Regions from separate parts of the Homo sapiens genome. Here region 1 is linked to region 2. Evidence: promoter capture Hi-C in 16 types of primary human blood cells and fetal thymus (Javierre and others, 2016). All regions are on one chromosome and are shown on one strand. Each heading gives the region's core, a stretch centred on a gene start or on the middle of the fragment in contact. The rest is flanking DNA. Distances are from core to core; before and after follow the strand shown. Region 1 has its middle 29 kb from the start of LINC01671. Region 2 holds the start of TFF3 (trefoil factor 3).

What was found. The method cuts DNA at HindIII sites, captures the fragments that hold promoters and counts their contacts. A CHiCAGO score of 5 or more calls a contact.
Region 1: a fragment that was not itself captured here is called in contact with the fragment with the promoter of TFF3 in region 2 in 1 of 17 cell types (non-activated CD4 T cells); the score reaches 5.2 in non-activated CD4 T cells.

What each region holds. Positions count from the first base shown.
Region 1 is chr21:42,583,616-42,589,417 of GRCh38, reverse strand. No RefSeq gene overlaps it. Among named protein-coding and RNA genes, the nearest start is that of LINC01671, 29 kb to the left of the region's middle. RefSeq lists a silencer at 2,729-2,778. The HindIII fragment of the contact is 5,612 bases long and covers 1-4,389 here.
Region 2 is chr21:42,313,975-42,320,322 of GRCh38, reverse strand. TFF3 (trefoil factor 3) reads left to right here and starts at 4,914. Exons shown (of 3, transcript NM_003226.4): 1 at 4,914-5,030. The coding sequence starts at 4,949. RefSeq lists enhancers at 1-321, 2,576-3,194, 3,195-3,814. The HindIII fragment of the contact is 10,232 bases long and covers 1-6,348 here.

The DNA.
Region 1 (5,802 bases), core at 334-2,833, 270 kb before region 2:
GCAGGTAAGGGGAAACGCCTGCGTGGATATAAACGGGAATGGAGGCTCGGTGCAGGTAAGGGGAAACGCCTGCGTGGATGTAAACGGGGCGGCAGGCCCGGTGCAGGTAAGGGGAAACGCCTGCGTGGATATAAACGGGAATGGAGGCTCGGTGCAGGTAAGGGGAAACGCCTGCGTGGATGTAAACGGGGCGGGAGGCTCGGTGCAGGTAAGGGGAAACGCCTGCGTGGATATAAACGGGAATGGAGGCTCGGTGCAGGTAAGGGGAAACGCCTGCGTGGATGTAAACGGGGCGGGAGGCTCGGTGCAGGTAAGGGGAAACGCCTGCGTGGATATAAACGGGAATGGAGGCTCGGTGCAGGTAAGGGGAAACGCCTGCGTGGATATAAACGGGAATGGAGGCTCGGTGCAGGTAAGGGGAAACGCCTGCGTGGATGTAAACGGGGCGGCAGGCTCGGTGCAGGTAAGGGGCAACGCCTGCGTGGATGTAAACGGGGCGGCAGGCTCGGTGCAGGTAAGGGGAAACGCCTGCGTGGATATAAACGGGAATGGAGGCTCGGTGCAGGTAAGGGGAAACGCCTGCGTGGATGTAAACGGGGCGGGAGGCTCGGTGCAGGTAAGGGGAAACGCCTGCGTGGATGTAAACGGGGCGGGAGGCTCGGTGCAGGTAAGGGGAAACGCCTGCGTGGATGTAAACGGGGCGGGAGGCTCGGTGCAGGTAAGGGGAAACGCCTGCGTGGATGTAAACCGGGCGGGAGGCTCGGTGCAGGTAAGGGGAAACGCCTGCGTGGATGTAAACGGGGCGGGAGGCTCGGTGCAGGTAAGGGGAAACGCCTGCGTGGATGTAAACGGGGCGGGAGGCTCGGTGCAGGTAAGGGGAAACGCCTGCATGGATATAAACGGGAATGGAGGCTCGGTGCAGGTAAGGGGAAACGCCTGCGTGGATGTAAACGGGAATGGAGGCTCGGTGCAGGTAAGGGGAAACGCCTGCGTGGATGTAAACGGGGCGGGAGGCTCGGTGCAGGTAAGGGGAAACGCCTGCGTGGATGTAAACGGGAATGGAGGCTCGGTGCAGGTAAGGGGAAACGCCTGCGTGGATATAAACGGGGCGGGAGGCTCGGTGCAGGTAAGGGGAAACGCCTGCGTGGATGTAAACGGGGCGGCAGGCTCGGTGCAGGTAAGGGGAAACGCCTGCGTGGATGTAAACGGGGCGGGAGGCTCGGTGCAGGTAAGGGGAAACGCCTGCGTGGATGTAAACGGGAATGGAGGCTCGGTGCAGGTAAGGGGAAACGCCTGCGTGGATATAAACGGGGCGGGAGGCTCGGTGCAGGTAAGGGGAAACGCCTGCGTGGATGTAAACGGGGCGGCAGGCTCGGTGCAGGTAAGGGGAAACGCCTGCGTGGATGTAAACGGGGCGGCAGGCTCGGTGCAGGTAAGGGGAAACGCCTGCGTGGATGTAAACGGGGCGGGAGGCTCGGTGCAGGTAAGGGGAAACGCCTGCGTGGATGTAAACGGGGCGGGAGGCTCGGTGCAGGTAAGGGGAAACGCCTGCGTGGATGTAAACGGGGCGGGAGGCTCGGTGTAGGTAAGGGGAAACGCCTGCGTGGATGTAAACGGGGCGGGAGGCTCGGTGCAGGTAAGGGGAAACGCCTGCGTGGATGTAAACGGGGCGGGAGGCTCGGTGCAGGTAAGGGGAAACGCCTGCGTGGATGTAAACGGGGCGGGAGGCTCGGTGCAGGTAAGGGGAAACGCCTGCGTGGATGTAAACGGGGCGGGAGGCTCGGTGCAGGTAAGGGGAAACGCCTGCGTGGATGTAAACGGGGCGGGAGGCTCGGTGCAGGTAAGGGGAAACGCCTGCGTGGATATAAACGGGAATGGAGGCTCGGTGCAGGTAAGGGGAAACGCCTGCGTGGATGTAAACGGGGCGGGAGGCTCGGTGCAGGTAAGGGGAAACGCATGCGTGGATATAAATGGCGCGGCAGGCTTGATGTTGGTACTCGCTTCTCAGTTCTGTCCTGTGGCTACTCGGCCCTGACACTGGTCAACGCGGCGAGCTTGGCACTTCTTTTCCCCGCTGCTTCTCCTCAGGTGCTGACTGCAAGGGGCAGAATGAGTAAGGTCTTTCCCACGGGGTTCCCTTCCCTTCCCTTCCCGCGTCTCGGGCCTATTTCCCGGAAAGCTATTATTCCCCCCGCTGACTAAGTGGTGCCGAAAGCGTCTGAGGGACTCCAAACTCCTCTTCAGGCTTATCGTGAGCTGGTGTAGACAGAGGTGTTTCCATGCTTTAACCCAACCCTTCTACTCATGTAACTTTCCCAGCAGCTCCAAGGGCAGCCAAGGCCCCAGCTAAGGTTTTTGTTCTTACCAGAAGTAAATACAAAGAAATGTTGGTAACTTGCTGAGATACAGAAAGTGTGATGAGAGTCAGATATGCTGCATCCTGCTGCCCCAGGAGGCTGGGGTGACTCCTTCCCGTCTGCGGACATGTGGGGACACACCATGAGAGCCTCAAGGCTTCGCTGCCAATAGCAGGTGGACGATCAAGGGGTCGTGGGGACGTGGAAGAAGAAAGCCTTATTGAAAGCTGGTGCAAAAGGGAAAGAGAGGCCAAAGCAGCCCCAACCATGGCCTGCCTGCCGGGGGCCCCTGCTGTGGCCTGGTGGCTTCCGACCGTGGCCTGCCTGCCGGGGCCCCTCCTGTGGCCTGGTGGCTTCCGGACCGTGGCCTGCCTGCCAGGGCCCCTGCTGTGGCCTGGTGGCTTCTGGACCGTGGCCTGTCTGCCGGGGCCCCTGCTGTGGCCTGGTGGCTTCTGGACCGTGGCCTGCCTGCCGGGGCCCCTGCTGTGGTCTGGTGGCTTCCGACGGTGGCCTGCCGGCTTCCGACGGTGGCCTGCCTGCCGGGGCCCCTGCTGTGGCCTGGTGGCTTCTGGACGTGACAGCCCAGCCATGGTCCTGCTGGACATTTGTTTCCTGGGAGAATTCTTGGAGGCCTGGTCTCTGGTCCGTAAGGACGCATAATTCTCAAGCCATGTTTCCACTGGAGATGCTAATTTTGAGTATAGGCTCCTTCCCTGTGTTTCTTTAATGAATCAGTGGCTTAGCATGGAAGGAGAAGTGGGGTCTATTTTTCACCTTGCTCCAGAATTTTAGTGCTCACAGCCACCCTGGACCCAATCTCCTTGAAAACTCTCATTTTAAATGGGAGGGGAAGGGGAGCTATCGCTTACCAGGTTCTAGTGATCTTCTGGGGTGATGAGACGTGTTGACCTTGAGAGAGCTGGTGGCTGCACAGCACTGTGAATGCGCCAGACGCCACCGACCGTATGCTTTGAAATGATTATTTGCATGTTATGTAAATGTCACCTCAGTTCCAAAAAAAAAAAAAAAATAATAATAATAGCCCTTGAGACCCGGAGAGGCTGCCCCTCCAGAGCCACTAGCTCCTCCTTTTGGGCTCCAGGATGTCTGGGTGTGGCTGTCACTTCGTCGTGGGGTGCAGGGACTCCTTAAACGCACCTGCCATTTTTCTGCATCTCCACTCCAAGTTCCTTTTAGAGGCAGGCAGGGTGTGGATTTTAACAGTAACAGAATGTCCAATGCCTGCCTCATTTTAGAATTTCAAAGAGAGACAGAACCGTCTTGGTTATTACCAAGTCAAGGAAGAAGGGAATGGAATATTCTGGATCAAGATGCCTTCAAAGTCCGTGTTCACTGTTGGCCCAAATGACACATGACATCCACTCACCGATCCTGTTTTGGTCAAAAATTGGCCTGGCTGGTTGGGCTTGGTGGCTGACGCCTGTAATCCCAGCACTTTGGGAGGTCGAGGTGGTCGGATCATGAGATCAGGAGTTTGAGACCAGCCTGGCCAACATGGTGAAACCCTGTCTCTACTAAAAATACAAAAATTAGCTGGGCGTGGTGGCTCGTGCCTGTAATCCCAGCCACTTGGGAGGCTGAGGGATGAGAACTGCTTGAACCCAGGAGGCAGAGGTTGCAGTGAGCTGAGATGGCGCCACTTCACTCCAGCCTGGTGACAGAGCGAGACTCCGTCTCAAAAAAAAAAAAAAAAAAAAGTGGCTGTGGGCGTAAAAATCACAGGATGCCCAAACTTCTTATGCCAAAGGGAAGATTAAGCCTGGAGTGAGAATCATGCAACGCTGCATCCGTATGGACAGCTGTCATGAATAGGATACATCAGCCAGGTCCCCACAGAAAGGTGGAGGCCACAGCCGTCTGCAAGTGCTCCCACAGATCTTTCATCAGTACATTCTTTGCTGGCCTCCCATAAACAAGGACATGCCAATCATAAATTTAGGTGTGCAATGTAAGTCCAGCTCCTAAAATGAGAGTCTGTTCCATTCTATGCTGATAATGTCCTTTACAAGCTTGTCCTCCCAGGGGCAGGCCAAAGACAAGACGAGATCAAGTGTTCCTCCACCTACCCAGAGAAGTCTGCAAAATGGATTCCTCCTTTGCTCCCTTTTCTTCTTCAAATATTTACCTTATGTGAAATGCAGATTTACTGGGTGCTAACTGAAGTCTCACAAGAATGTCACCATTCACCTCACCTCAATGTCTAAATACCAAACCTCTTGTAAGCCTCTTTAGAAAAACAGCCACAGATGTGTCTGTGGCTTGTGTTTTCCTGGACATGCCCTAACGCTGGCAGAATAAACCTCGGTTGATTGAGATATTTACCTCAATTGCTTCTTTCAGTTACCAGACCTGACCATTGTTAAGCGTGTCCCAGAGGATGTTGGGGACCAATTCCAAGGATCAAGAAATTCTCAACTGGCAAGGGCTCCCCTGCCTTCCACCCTCCCCCCACTGTCCTTCCCAGCAGTCCAGGGTGCTGCCCACCCCGACTGTCTCCGACGATGGCGCACGCCCCTGCCCTTGCCCTCCGTGGACTTTCTCAGCCGCCTGGGACGTGCCCTGCTGTGCCCCTGCATCCCACTTGCTGCCCAGGGCGATGCTTCATGGTGACCTGCGACTGGCTCAGCAATGATGGACTCTCCTGGGAGGGTGAGGCCCTGGGTGCCAGAAACACTGCCTGTGTTCAGCAGCTGGAGTTAAATTCCAGCTCCCAAGGGGTGTGGCGGGGAACATGCTGCACTTGGCCACCACTACGGGTGGCCCAGACCCCACATTATCCCCATGTCTGGAGCTCACAGGCCCCCTTGGAGGGGGCCAGCAACAAGAGCTGGCTTCAGAATGAGCAAGCAGCTCAGGACTGCGTTCTTCAGAGTCCCTTGGATCTGTTCTCAGGGGCAGGGCACGTTGGAACGCACGGGACAGGGAAGTGATGACAGTTAACCCAAACTCAGTGAAGGGCACCACTGGGTTCCAAATGAACCATCGCTCCTCCCGACTCAGGCCCCTGGGGTCTCTCAGCCAGGCTTTTGGTTCCCGCTTCCATCCTGGATGAGGTGTCATTCTGCGGGCCACAGGGCACATGGCCAGGGCAGTCACCCAGCACCTGCGCCCGAGGGTCGCGTGGGTTGAGTGCTCCACCGTGGCTGTGTGGAGATTCTGAGAAGTGCTCTCTTTGCATCTGTGGTTTGTAAGGGAAGTCCAGGGGACAATGGAGCCGGCACTGAGGGACTGGAACTTTGGCTCTTACGTGATTCTGACTCCACCACCTCCCCAGGAGGGGCCTAGGTTGTGCTCCCACCTCAGCCCCCCCCCCACCCTGGGAAGTGACCTGCCTACTGCCCGTGGTCTCTGGTGGGCCTGGCAGCTGCCCCTGCCTTGGCAGCCAGTGCTACAGCCTCTTCTACTGCCCTCCAGGGACCTGGGG
Region 2 (6,348 bases), core at 3,665-6,164:
GGACTGTCTCTGAGAACTGCATGCCATCAGCCCAGGTCTGGTACAAGAGGGGCTCCCAGCTGTCGGCCCAGGACTGGCTCAGTGCAGGACTGCAGACTGGAGTGCATCACACGGAAGGTGAGGTGACACGGTGCCTCCGGTGCCTGGGTGAGGGCCTTGCACCCTCCTCTCAGGCTCTGCTTCCTGGTAGAGCAGGTCTGGCTGCTGGGGAAGGGCCCATCTGGGCCCAGCAGGTGGGGCTGCGGGTGAGGTGCTCCTGTCCACCGCGGTCAGCTGCATTATTTCTGGCCGTCAGTCCATGCCTTTCTGGGAACCTTTCCTGTCCCTTGCACGTGGGGCTGATGCAACGGTCCCAAACCCACAGACGCTCTGGGTTTAGAGGGCTCTGTGGCTGCTTCTCAAGACGAGTGGCTGAAACAGCACCAAGTGCTCCTTGAGCTGCACAAGGGAACCCTGGAGCCCATGCCCCCTTCCGAGCCCACTGGGCTGCTCTGCGTTCTGACCTTCCTGTTTTACACGTGGTGGTGGCATTTGCTCTGCTCCTGGTCCCCACCCCCATTTGTCCTCAGTGGACTATGTGTCAAGACAGAAGCATCCTTGAATGGGTCACTGCGTTTGCCTCCCCAAAGCACCTACATTCAGGTCGTGATGACTCAGGAAGGGTCTTCGAGCCTCTCTCAGGGAGGCAGGAGGAAGTTCTGTGCAGAGTGAGGGGCGGCACCCATGGCAGCTGCAGACCGAGAGACAGCTGGGCAGCAGGGTGCTCCTGGGAGGTGTGCGGCCCTGGGCCACCCACGGGTGCTGATTAGCACAACTTCCTACTTCCTTCCTCCCTCGGACTGTCTGCTGCTTGAGTAATCGAGTGACAATACCAGAAAACTGAGCGGTGATGCAGACCCTATAACCTGCATGTGCCACATCAACTCTGAGTTTTCTGTGGGGCAGTGAGTTAGTGCAAAGTAGGCAGTGTTATGGCCTTACCTGCCCCTCTGCACTTTGGGAGGCTGAGGCAGGCAAATCACTTGAGGTTAGGAGTTTGAGACCAGCCTGGCCAACATGGTGAAACCTCAGCTCTACTAAAAATACAAAAATTAGCCGGGCATGGTGGCGTGCACCTGTAATCCTAGCACTTTGGGAGGCCAAGAGAGATGGGTTGCCTGAAGTCAGGAGTTCGAGACCAGCTTGGCCAACATGGTGAAACCCTGTCTCTACTAAAAATACAAAAATTAGCCAAGTGTGGTGGCATGCACCTGTAATCCCAGCTACTCGGGAGGCTGAGGGAGGAGGATCGTTTAAGCCTGGGAGGTGTAGGCTGTAGTGAGCTGAGGTTGAACCACTGTACTCCAGCCTGGGTGATGGGAGAGAAACCCTGTCTCAAAATAAAATAAAATAAAATAAAATAACTTAACATAACATAAAATAAAATAAGATAAGATAAAATAAAATGAAATGTGCCCCTCTGACCTTCACCCCTCCCATCTGGTGAACTTGTACTCATCCCTCAAGACCTAGTCAGATTTCACCCCACTCTGCCAGCTCTAATCATACTGCACCACAATTCATGCTTGAAGGCTTGTTCCTCCTCACCAGCCTGTGAGCTCTGAGGGCACGGGCTCTGCCTGATGTTCTGGGGCTCCCACATCTGCAGGCCGAGTGCCTGACCTGGGACCCATGCTCAGCTTGTGCTTGTTATATGCACGTGACAATGACCACGCATCCGGGAGGTGAAAGGTTGCAGCCCCGGCATGGGGGAGCAGACTGTCTTCTTCTTGGATCCATCCAGGAGCCCCTGCACAAGGCCCAGGGTGGGAGGGATTTGCAGGGCTCCTGGGACGGCCCACACCGCCACACCGCACACAGCTGACGAGGCTGCTGCAGGGATGCGGGATGCGGCTCCCAAGGAGGAAAGGGAGAGGCTCCTTTAGAGCCAGTCCTGCTCACCCCCAGGTCTTGGGTTGCCCAGGGGAGCCACCTGTCTGGGTTGGGCCCGATGCCCACTACCGCACGGCCTACAGCTCTGACAACAGCTCTGCTTTTTCTCTGGAACTGGAACTCCCCCAGGGGAATAGGGTGGCTGGGGAAGGCTGTGGGAATGCAGGCTCTGGAAGGCAGGTTGGGCTCTCCCATGCCATCCTCTGTTCCTGTACAGAGCCCAGGGCTCCTGGGGAGGGGGCTCCTAGAACAGAGAGAGGGGACACACACGGGCCTCCCCATTGACCTCTCCAGAGGTGCAGCCCAAATCCCCCTTCTCTGAGAAGCCTGTGCGTCTCCACCTGACAGGACCCAGCTCTGGCCCCCTTGCCACAGCCTTTGCTCCTACCAGAGCCGGGACCAGGAATCCTCTCCTCTGCCATCATGGTTGATCCAGCACACCCGGCAGGTGGTCAGTGTGTGTCCCAGGCACCTGGCTGGGCTGTGCAGCACCACTTCATGCTGTCCTGTGGGGTGAGCACCCTGTGACATGTAGGGAAACTGAGGTACAGATGGGACGTGACTTGCCCAAGGTCAGGCAGCACAGAACCTAGTCTTGGCTTCACCATCTTAACTCTGACATGATCCCGTCTCCCTTTGCGGGGGGACTCTTCAAGGACAAGAATGTGTCACCTTTGTTATTCCTTCCCCAGCCCTAAACCCTGGGTGTAGGCAGTAGGAGCTCAGTCAACATTCACTAGTTAAACGGAAGCAAACCCCAGCAGGGTTCTCGGTGCTGGCCGCAGAGAAGAATCACAGGCGACAGAACCACCTGTCAGGGCGGGGCCCAGGCATTGATATTCTCCCCACTCCAGGCAATTTTGAGTGCAGCAGGTGGAGACCACAGCACCTGCAGAAGCTCCTTGCGGGGGTCCTTCCCCAGCAGGTCATGAGGGCCGGAGGGGCAGCAGTCTGTTCCTGGGGTGTTTGCACCCTCCTGGAACTCAGCCCTGCACCACGACCTGGCCTGGCCTCTGGGTACTAGGAGCAGTGGGAAGGCAGGGAGATCTCACCAGATCCCCCAGGGAGATCTCACCAGATCCCCCAGGGATTTCCCCTACAATGACCTTTTTAATAACATGAAAATCCTGCTGTCCATTGATGAACCTGGGTCCGCTGTCTCCCAGAAAAAGTGAGTGCCCCGAAAACAAGGCAGGCAACGCTCTTTCCTTCTTCCTCCTTCGCTGGCCTCAGCGGGAGTGGCACATCAGAGGCCAGGGGCCCTCAAATCCATCCACAAAGGGCGTGCTGAGCGCAAGGGCGGGGCCTGGGAGTCACAGGGCAGGACACATCCTGGTGCTCAGCACGTACGCCATCGAGCTCCCATGGGTCACTCGGGGAAGGGCAGTTTGTGGATGCACCCTTGGAGGCTCAAGGCCGCCCTGCACACACCACCGGGGACCCCAGCTGCAGGCTAAATCCAAGCAGCCAGGCGCTCCCATTTCTCGGGGTGATAAACCAAGTCCACCCTTCAGACAGAGGCTCCTGGAAGGGCCAGTGGGGGTCATCAAAATGCCTCCCTGGAAAAGAAACACGGAGAACACAAAATCTAGGGGCCCGTTTTCCTGGAATGAGATTAGTCTCTTGCCCACTACCAGCCAGTCCACTGCAGGAGGTTGGGGGGTTGGGGGATGCTGCGGATGCCGAGGGCGGAGGCTTAGGGTCCTGGGAGTGGGTTAAATACCAGCTATACCAGGGACACTGGAGTAACCTCTGATAGGCACCGGAAATGTTGAGTCTTAGTTTCTTCCTCTGGAAAATGGATAGAATCATCGCTGTCTCATCTGATATGTTGTTATAAAACAATTCCTGAGATGTAGTCTTTAGTTTTTAAAAGAGCACGCTGGGCAAAGGTGGAGAGTCAGTTCCTGTTTGTGTTAAAAATGTGGCCGAGTGCAGTGGCTCATGCCTGTAATCCTGACACTTTGGGAGGCCAAGGAAGGCAGATCACTTGAGTCCAGGAGTCTGAGACCAGCCTGGCCAACATGGCGACACCTGGTCTCTAAAAAAATACAAAATATTAGCTGGACACATGCCTGTGGCCCAGCTACTTAGGAGGCTGAGGTGGGAGGATCACTTGAGCCCCGCGAGGGCGGGGGTCTCAGTGAGTTGAGATTGTGCCACTGCACTCCAGCCTGGGTAACAGAGCAAGACCCTGTCTCCAAAAAAAAAAAACAAAAAAAAAACAAAAAAAAAACAAAACAAACAAACAAACAAAAACAAACCAAAAAAACGTGCTTAGATCCAGAGAGAAAAATTCTGAAAGGATACCTAAAAAAGTGTTCACAATAGATCAATAGATGCCTCTGGATAGGAAAGGCTCTTTTGTATTATTTGATTTTAAAAATCAATTATGTGTACCATGTTTTTACTAACATATTTTCAATCAATTCATTTCATCCACTTATTAAAATGTAGTTACTAATTTTTAGGGGAGAAAGCAAAAAGGAAAGACAAGGAATCTCTGTGTTTCAGGAGTTGTGAGAGAGCCGCAGGGTCCTGACTCACTCAGAGCTGCCTGTCTCCGAGGCCGATCTGGGATGAAGCAGCCTGGGGCTCTCTTGTCATGGGACCAGGGGTGTTCTGAGGGCTTCTGGCTGGGAGGCTGAGATGGAACGGACACCACACCCTGGTCCTGCCACCCCACATGGCTCCTGCACACTACACCAGGCCAGGCTAGGAGGGCAATTGACACACATCCGCTCCCCAGTAGAGGACCCGGAACCAGAACTGGAATCCGCCCTTACCGCTTGCTGCCAAAACAGTGGGGGCTGAACTGACCTCTCCCCTTTGGGAGAGAAAAACTGTCTGGGAGCTTGACAAAGGCATGCAGGAGAGAACAGGAGCAGCCACAGCCAGGAGGGAGAGCCTTCCCCAAGCAAACAATCCAGAGCAGCTGTGCAAACAACGGTGCATAAATGAGGCCTCCTGGACCATGAAGCGAGTCCTGAGCTGCGTCCCGGAGCCCACGGTGGTCATGGCTGCCAGAGCGCTCTGCATGCTGGGGCTGGTCCTGGCCTTGCTGTCCTCCAGCTCTGCTGAGGAGTACGTGGGCCTGTGTGAGTACTGCCCTGACTGCCCCGGTGGCAGGGTGGGCGTGAAGGGAAGGGATCCAGGATAAGGGGGGATTCTGCATTCATTTAATAATGGCCACCTGTCACATATACACTTTTTCCTGCGCTAGCCCTTTGAAGTGGGTCTTTATTGTCCCCATTTCACAGACAAGGAAACCGAGGCTCAGAGAAAGTTAACAACTTATCCAAGGCAGCCCTGCCCAGTCTGTGTTGAAATCAGGGTTTGAGCCTGAGCCCATCCCCTATGACCCCATAGCCATCTTTGCTGGAGATTTCTAAATTACAATATAGGTCTTTATGCATTGTTCCACATTTACAAAGAAAAAGGAAAGATGCAGGAGAAAAACCCTGACTTCAGAACACTGTCAATACCGGCAGGCACAAGGTTCATTTAGCCATTGCATAGCAACCCTGCCATGGGGTGTGGCTGCTCCATTAACCCAAGTTTGAAGGAATGAGGGCATGGCTTTTATCTGGGTGTCTTCTGAGCAGGGTCAAAGGCAGTGGTTCCCGAACTTGCAGCCCATTAGAATCACCTGGAGAGCTTTAAAAATCCTAATGCTTGGGGCACACCAGTTACATCAGGGCATCTCCAGGCAAGATCCAGGCCTCAGCTGTTTTGTTTTGAGATAGCCTTGCTTTGTCACTCACTGCTGGAGTGCAGTGGCACAATCTCAGCTCACTGCAACCTCCGCCTCCTGGGTTCAAGCAATTCTTGTGCCTCGGCTTCAAGTAGCTGGGATTACAGGCATGCACCACCATGCCCAGCTAATTTTTTGGATTTTTAGTAGAGATGGAGTTTCGCTATGTTGGCCAAGCTGGTCTCAAACTCCTGGCCTCAAGTGATCCTCCTGCCTTGGCCTCCCAAAGTGCTGGAATTACAGGTGTAAGCCACCATGCCCAGCCAACGTCAGTCATTTTTAAAGCTCTGCAGCTGATTCCAGTGTGAGCGAAGTTTGGATGCCAGGAGGATAAGCAATTACGGACTGGGAGCAAGAGAAGGGAATGTAAGACACTGCACGTGATTGCCATTTTCCTAAGGAAATACTCAGTTCGTTAATGAAACGCAGTGAACTTCTGCTGCACATACAGACATAGAGGCTTGCCTGAAACATGAAAATATTGGGGACTGAAGGATGTCCCGGGAGGGTGGGACATGCTCAACAATTCAGGAAGGGGAGATGCAGAAAAAAGTGAAAAGCAGGCAGCATGCGTTGCAATGATCTCTATGGCGTGTGCCTCTCCTGTCACGGTTTTCATTTAAAACAAAGGGGCAAGGTTTTGTTGGTCAAACAATGAAGGG